Regions from separate parts of the Homo sapiens genome. Here all the other regions are linked to region 3. Evidence: promoter capture Hi-C in human tissues and cell types (Jung and others, 2019). All regions are on one chromosome and are shown on one strand. Each heading gives the region's core, a stretch centred on a gene start or on the middle of the fragment in contact. The rest is flanking DNA. Distances are from core to core; before and after follow the strand shown. Region 1 has its middle 110 kb from the start of RPL22L1. Region 2 holds the start of RPL22L1 (ribosomal protein L22 like 1). Region 3 holds the start of PHC3 (polyhomeotic homolog 3).

Region 1 (2,700 bases), core at 176-2,675, 580 kb after region 3:
TAGAGAACTTACCCATGTAACCAAAAACCGACTGTTCCCCAAAAACGATTGAAATAAATTAAAATTTAAAAAAATACATGAAAAAAATAAAATGTGTGAAAAATAATAAAATAAAATAAATAGTTCCTTGTACTACATGAGCAGTGTATAATTGAACTGTGTATACAATGTACATGTGTATACAATGTGTATACAATGAACCGCTCGTAAGTGGAGGTAACAAAGCACTTATATTTGGTCTTTCAGGTACAAATCCCATATTTAGGCCTAAAGAAGCTTCAGGAGGTTTCCTGATACTCTGCTTCATATATCTCCTTGATCTAGCTTTTCTCCTATCTTTTATTGTTAATTTAGTTCAGCTTAGTTTTTAAATAGAAAAGTGATTCATGTTCACTAAAGAAAACGGTAATTTTTCAGAAAGAATAGAAACCTCCTTTAATTGCTTACGACTCAGAGGCAACCGCTTTACCATGTTTCCTTCTAATCTCTTTTAATACTTTTCTTATGCAATTGGCTGCATTTTCTTCACACATACAATGTTGTATCTGTTGTTAGTTAACATGCTGAGTGTTTTTGATGCCATTCAAATACTTCATAAGCATAACTTTTCATATCCACATAATATTCCGTCTTACAGATATGTGACTTATGTTTAGCTTCTGTCTATTGTCGTTCATTTACCATGTATATTTTCACTTCCAAACTGCCTTCTTTTATGCCTGAATATCTTGAAAATTGATTTTTTTCCTCACGTTTCCTCCTCCTTTTTTGCTCACTGACGTCTTTCTGATTTTCTCCCTCTCTTTATCCTGCTTCTCCCAGTCTCACCTTTATAAATTTACATTTATAACATGTTTTCCTAACATGAGTTTTGCATTTAAAAAGTGTTTTCTCACATTCATCACCTTATTTGGTGTCCACAATAACCCTCTGGAATAAGCAGGGGAAGTAGAAACTAAAATTCAGAGAAGTGATTTTCCCAAAGGCACTTAACCCAGATGACTCTTAATTCACTGTCTATACCAGACCACTCTATATGATGGTTCTTTTGGACATGTTTTTATTTTTATTCTTTATTTTTTGGACACATGTTCTTAAAAGCTACACAAGATTCATATAGGTTTAAAAAATAGCTTTTCATTGTTCATGTTTATAACATAGTTGATACATCTGGCATATAATAATCCTTATAGGTTCTACCAAAAGTTTAAAACATAAGGAATAATGAACTAATGGGCACCATCAAGCTCTGGCAAGGATCTCACAGGGGCATAAAATAGTTATGTGTGGTCTTTCACATCTTCTCAGCAGTTTCTCCAAATACTGCACTGCCTCAACATAGAATTCCCCACCATGCTTTTGAACTGACTCCACCCCCACCTTTTTTTTTTTTTTTTTTTTTGAGATGGAGTCCGCTCTGTTGCCCAGGCTGGAGTGCAGCGGCGCGATCTCAGCTCACTGCAAGCTCCGCCTCCCGGGTTCAAGCGATTCTCCTGCCTCAGCCTCCTGAGTAGCTGGGACTAAAGGTGTGCGCCACCACGCCCGGCTAATTTTTTTATTTTTAGTACAGACGGGGTTTCACCATGTTGGCCACAATAGTCTCAATCTCTTGACCTCGTGACCCGTCCGCCTCGGCCTCCCAAAGCGCTGGGATTACAGGTGTGAACCACCGTGCCCGGCTCACCCTTTTTTTTAAAGATAAACAAAATACTAATTTGCTAATGAGTATATTGGAGATTGTCTCCTGTGACCTCAGTCATATTAAATTCTCTCCCTGAAGGGGACTAATACTCCTCACAACCACCCCATTAGCCCTGTCTTCCCATGTTTAAAAATCAGCTTTGTTCAATTATGAGGTCAGGTTTCCCCTTTGTGCAGGTCTTCCTGAAACCAGCGGGCTTCCTGAGGAATGTGAAGAGAACCAGGTCACCTGGGATTTCTTCCTTCCTCAGAAGGTCTCCCCAAGTCAACATCGCCTCTGAATTTTCTATTTCCTTTTGGCAAATAAAAGAAAAAGTAAGTAAAACATCTTAGTCTATGCATGACCAAAGGTTAAACCTTTATTGCTTCATTTTGATTGTATCAGCTTTTCAGGACAATGTTTTCAAGGCCAGAGCTTATTTTAATAGCTGTAATAATACCAGTATTTTCTGATAATAATGGCAAACACTTTTTTTGGCAAGCACTTTTAGTGTTTGTTGTGGTTGTGTGCCAGGCATGGTTCTCAGCAGTTTTCACTAATTCATTTCATCTTCACAACAACCCTATAAGGTAAATTTTATTATCGCCCTTTCTACAGATTGGCAAATGAGGCACAAGTGGTTTGGCTTGCCCCTAAACTACATAGACAGCAAAAGACTGAGGGAGAATTTGGGGAAGACAGTCTTGCTCCAGTTCATGCTCTTATTCACGGCACTGTGCTGACCTCTCAGTCACCACGCTATTTACTTTACATACATTGTCTTATTTAATCTTCACACAGTGTATGTTTTATTATTTATCTCTATTTTACAGGTGAGGAATGAAGCTCAGTGGTGTTTAGCAGTTTGGCCAGATTCCACTCTGGCAAGCTCAGTGAGACAGAACCAATTTCCCTTTCTGTTTCTTTTAGTAGATAAAGCCATTGACCCAGCGATGAGGCAACTCAGAAAATGCTCAGAATACCAATCATAGGATCTCCCTAAAAATCAAGTGATGTGG
Region 2 (2,700 bases), core at 196-2,695, 690 kb after region 3:
TGTCTAGAAAATTCAATTCTTACGTTATTATAGGCAAGGGAAGGGGACTTTGGTAAAAAAAAAAAAAAAGAAAAGAAAAGAAAAAGAAAAAATAAAAATAAAAAAGGCAAGGTGCCGTCCCAGCACTTTGGGAGGCTGAGGCAGGAGGATCACGTGAGGTCAGGAGTTCAAGGCCAGCCTGGCCAACATGGTGAAACCCCATCTCTAGTAAAAATACAAAAATTAGCCAGGTGTGGTGGTGCATGCTTATAATCCTAGCTATTCAGGAGGCTGAGTCGGGAGGATTGCTTGAACCCGGGAGGCGGAGGTTGTAGTGAGCCTGATCATGCCACTATACTCCCACCTGGGCAACAGACTCTGTCTCAAAAAAAAAAAAAAACCTAAAAACCAACACCGTGGAACTTAAATTTTCCATATCCAAACCTTTTATACCAAGACCATATAATATGGCTACATAAGCAAAATGTTACTGTGGCCAGCAACCATGTACATTCACTGCAATATGAACAAACAAATCTGTATTTATCAGACTATAACCTCCAATTTAGATTCACCCAAGTGGCTACCAAGTATTACACATTAGTTTGCTTTCTCAGGTAGCATGGTAACATGTGCCAAAAGATAATTACCCAGTTGGCGCAGAAGTTAATTTGGGAGACACAAACAACTTCTGTCTAATGGAACAGATAACCCTATAGGGTTTATGGCCATGCTGGGCATTACCCAGTTTTGTAGCTAGCCCAGCAATTTTATCCTAACTTTATTTGTAAATTGCGCATGTATATCTAGCTTTTCAGATATTCTTAGGAACATTTTAACATCTTACTGGTTCCCTTACTAATGACTTAAGTAAAACATCTGAAGCACGTTTATTTCACATTGCTGGAATCTAGACTTATACTTTTCTAAAAATTACTTCACCGAGAAACTTCTTCCCCAACTGAAAGTTCTCAAAAACTTGTGATGTCGGCCATCGCGGGAGCTGAGCGCCTAGGAGCTCCCTCTGGCCTGGCAAAGGTCGTCAGACCGGCCCGATTACCCACCATTCCCCTACCCAGTGCTGAGTGGCAAAAGCATTATCAGGCGCGAGATAGTAAAGAAATGGCTCAGATTGCAGTACCACCGGCCCATTTACAGTTGTGCCTCCCTCTTTCCCGCGTGTCCAAAACCACCCATCCTAAACCAATTCCGGGCCCAGCTCCAACTCCACTAGACCTCATGGCAGCTGCCAGGGAGTCTCGAAAAACAGTTCAGGATCCTCGCGTCTTGGTTGTGTTTCTGACCCAGACTTCACTACTCCCCTCCCTTTATCTTGACTGAGACGTCTCCACTCGACAGATGCAAAAATCGTTACAGCGGAAATCATTAAATTGCCACACAACACTCCCACCAAGACATCGCTCACTCACCGGCGCCATCTTGCGAGTCGGCCGCGAGAGCAGAGAGGAAGCTACGGCCGCGCGGTCTGCATTTATATCAAAGCGTGCTGCGTCACGCGCTGAGAGCGTCAGATTGTCGCCTCCCGGAAAAGAAAGCGGGAGGAGCGCTGAGGCCGGTAACCCAGGAAACCAGTGCGCTGCCGGACGAGAGTAGGCCATCGGCTTTCCGCGGGCACACGCGGGTGGCTGTGGTTGAACTGACTCTCGGGTTTCCGCTCCTGGCTGTTCAAGCCGATTAATTGCAGTGGCCTCTACAGTTACCTAGTGGCTGCTCCCGGATACGGACGCACGCGAGGGATGCAGGAGTCATCTTTCACTAATCACCGGAATCCCCTTTCCAATCAGGGCAAGGCAGTGTCTCAGGTTGCTTTGGGATCTCCTTTTATTGCAGTTATAATCCTCCAGCGAAAAAGTTATTTGTTTGTGTTTTGTCTGTGAGCCTCGTTTTCTAAATGACTGTTGAGGGAAATTGGTGCTTCGGGGACCAGGTCCTCGGGAAAAAAAAATCATGTATATATATGCTTACACGCCCACGCCTGTAATCCCAGCACTTTGGGAGGCCGAGGCCGGAGAATCTCTTGAGCCCAGGAGTTCGAGACCACCCTTGGCAGCGTAGGCATAGGGAGAACCCGTCTCTACAAACAATTTTAAAAAAAATGGCCCGCGTGGTGGTGCGCGTCTGTACTCCCAGCCACTCGGGAGGCTGAGGCAGGAGCATCGCTTTACCTTGAGAGGCGGAAGTTGCAGTGAGTCGAGATCGAGCCACTGCACTCCAGCCTGGGTAACAGTGAGACTGTCTCAAAGGGAAAAACACGTAGTGCTTGCTTCTTGTTCATTCGTTTGGTATAATTTATCATGGGTTTTACAGTTAATCCCAGGTCTCTTGATTTCCATCCAAAATGCTCCCAGTTAAAATTCAATGAATGTTTGCTGTGACCTATCAGTATGTACAAGACACACGAGGGTGGAAGTGTCTTGCTGACAAAAGGAAAAAGTAGCTTTTGAGCTTTGAAGGATTGTAAATTGACATCAGATCCGAAAAGTGGCATGCTGAACCGCTTGGGTTTAGCAGTAATATGTTTTCGTGGAGATGAAATTATCATACCTAGGGGTAGGGGTAAGGGATGGGGTGGACTTTGTTGTTAATTTGAAGAATGACCCCAGAAAGTAAGAACTGTTCGTGGCCTTTATGCCAGCAAGTAGTTATCGTGGAAACTATGCTTTAATAGAGCATATGACTTGTAGAGTCTGAAGAGAGGCC
Region 3 (2,700 bases), core at 98-2,597:
CTGCAGTGAGCTATGATCGTGCCACTGCACTCCAGCCTGGGAGATAAGAGTGAGAGACGCTGTCACAAAGAAAGAAAAAGAAAATAAGAGGAAAAGTGAAAGGAAAACCGTCAGGAAGAAAGCTGACTCCTCACTTACTTTTTGGATTAGTAAATAATTCATACATTTTTATGCTTCTGTTTTTTTTTTTTTTTTCCAAACTGCCTTCCAATCAAATCACAGCATCATATGGTAACTGTTCAACATTATACAGTATTAGTGGTAGGTAAGGTAAACTTTTTACCGAACTGCTGCCTGTCATACTACTACCGTATCGTGTACCAGTGACATGCAAAAGGCCAGCTTAAGTTCTGGTTTTTTAAAAGTGTTAATCTGCTCAACTATGCCCTCCAATCCAAACAGTATGGTAAACAGTTCTAACTCCTAACCAAAAATGGTCACAGAGAATCCAAATTCTCGGCATAAGTCTAAACATCGGTTGAGCGGAACTGGCCAAACCATCGCACTGCATTTCGAGGCCTGGCACAAAAGAACAACTTTGGTAACTCCACCGTCTAGGCATACTAATACCTGCAAAATACAGCCAGCAGTTCTGGTGCACAAGAGGCCTACCCAGGAAACAGTAAGTTCTGGAGTCGTTAACTAAACATACCGTCACACCGACACACAAGAATGTGGCCCGCGTGTGAGGCAGCAACGCTGCACCCAGAGAATCGAGGGAAAGACCTTTCTTTCAGGGTGTTTTCAGCCTCACCAGACCTGCAAGCAGCCCCCGCCGCTCTCAGGCCCACGCCGGGATGCCTCCGGCACGAGGGAAGCGGGCAGCCCCGCGTGTCGGATTCTCCCGCTGAGGAGGAGTGGGGTGGCGCCGGGGCGGGAAGGAGAAGAAGGCGAAGGAGGCCTGGCAGTGCCCGCCCTGCCCTACCCAGCCTCCGCGGGCCCCTGCGCAGGCAGCCGTAACAAGGCTGCCCGCGGGGCCCACTTGCAGGAATGACAGCGCCTGAGGAGCCCACCCGGGCTCGTTCCCCGGAAAACCCCAGCTCCCGGAGTCCCAAGGGTGACCCTGCGCGCAGGGCCGCGCAGATCCGGGACCTGATGGCGGAAGGGGCGCTCCTGCCTGGAGGGTAACTGGACCCTAGAGTTCGTCTTCGCCCCGCGACACGGGCCTAGCCGGCTCCTCCACGATAGGACGGGTCTCGAGTCTCTCTTTCCCCACACTGCCCGCAAAAGAGCCCTGAGCTTTCCCCTGGGGGAACGTGTCGCTGCCCCAACTCGCCCCCCCTAGTTACGACATCAGTCACCATCTAGTCACTCACTCCGCTTCCGCCATCTTCTCTCCTCCATCACTAACATGGGCTGCGCATGCGCCCCCCGGCGGCGGGCGGAGAGGCGGGGTCGGCTCAGCCCCCGGAGCCAGAGGTCACGTGGCGTCCTCAGCTTCCAATCGCCCCCGCCCACCATAGGAATTGCTCTTTCTGGAAAGTGACCAGATTTCCCCCACTAAGATAACCAGTGTCTCCTCTCCAAACCCCTCTCTTTCTCTCCTCCAGGATCTTCCTCTTGGGGAGATATCTGTAATAAAGATATAAAAAGTTATCTTAGATTGTTAAATTTAAAATTTAAAGAATATGGGCGCGGTGGCTCACCTGTAATCCCAGCACTCTGGGAGGTTGAGGAGGATCTCTTGAAGCGAGGAGTTCAGGACCAGCCTTGACAATAAAGTGAGACCCTGACTCTACCAAAAAAAAGCCCAACAATAATAATAATAATAATAATAATTTTGAAGAATATCTAAAATATACCAAAGCCTATGCAAACTGCAGAGTGGTTTCAAAGAAAATACCCACGAGGATTAGAGGCTGAGGTCTCAGGGAGAAAGGAAATTCAGGGCTGGCTGCAGGGCTTGTTGCCTGGGAGCTTTGGGGCTTGAGGGTCCCAACCAGCAGTACCTCTCTCCAGCTGAAAGATAGTGTTCAGATGCCAGTGAATGAGTGGTTAAGGAATCATCCTGACTACCCTAGGCATATCATTCATGTCTTCAGTATGAATTTGCTGAGCGCTTAGTAGGAATTGCAAACTTGAACACCACAAGGAACAAGCAGGAACAGCCACCAGTTTGCTAGTGTAGTCTGCTAAATGCCAACAACTCAGGTGTGTGAGACAAACATATAAAGATAAGTAAAATAACACATTTAAATATAAATATGAAATAATAAAGATGAGTCCTTGTCTTCCAAGAAGTAGCGGAGCGGGTTTTATAGACATTTGCATACAATATAATGTGTTCTGAAGACCGGGACGATGGCTCACCCTCATAATACCAGCACTTTGGGAAGTGAAGTTGGGAGGATTGCTTGAGCCCGGGAGTTTGAGACCACCCTGGGCAACATGGGGAAATCCCATCTCTACAAAAAATACAAAAATTATCCGGATGTCGTGGCGCGCACCTGTCATCCCAGCTACTCAGGAGGCTGAGGAAAAAGTGTTCTGAAACAGATCTATTAAGTGCTTTGGAAAGTTTAAAGTTCAAGGTGTATAATAAATCTTTACCTCCCTTTACAGGAAAAAAAAAGCATACGAACCATAAACAATGTCTCTTTTTGCATTTTGTGAGGTGATGGAGTCACAATAATTTCAAGAACTGAGAATGAAGTATTGATATAAATCCATCCGGAAGTGTAATATGGTCTGATGAAAAGT

What was found. The method cuts DNA at HindIII sites, captures the fragments that hold promoters and counts their contacts. A contact is called where the count stands out against the background at its distance.
Region 1: a fragment that was not itself captured here is called in contact with the fragment with the promoter of PHC3 in region 3 in 1 of the 25 tissues and cell types used here (hippocampus).
Region 2: a contact is called between the fragment with the promoter of RPL22L1 here and the fragment with the promoter of PHC3 in region 3, in 1 of the 25 tissues and cell types used here (mesendoderm cells).

What each region holds. Positions count from the first base shown.
Region 1 is chr3:170,757,641-170,760,340 of GRCh38, forward strand. No RefSeq gene overlaps it. Among named protein-coding and RNA genes, the nearest start is that of RPL22L1, 110 kb to the right of the region's middle. The HindIII fragment of the contact is 4,311 bases long and covers 1-2,700 here.
Region 2 is chr3:170,868,750-170,871,449 of GRCh38, forward strand. RPL22L1 (ribosomal protein L22 like 1) reads right to left here and starts at 1,446. Exons shown (of 4, transcript NM_001099645.2): 1 at 1,410-1,446. The coding sequence starts at 1,418. RefSeq lists enhancers at 939-988, 1,158-1,884, 1,885-2,610. The HindIII fragment of the contact is 18,698 bases long and covers 1-2,700 here.
Region 3 is chr3:170,180,386-170,183,085 of GRCh38, forward strand. PHC3 (polyhomeotic homolog 3) reads right to left here and starts at 1,348. Exons shown (of 15, transcript NM_024947.4): 1 at 1,317-1,348. The coding sequence starts at 1,330. RefSeq lists silencers at 813-892, 1,363-1,502. The HindIII fragment of the contact is 20,619 bases long and covers 1-2,700 here.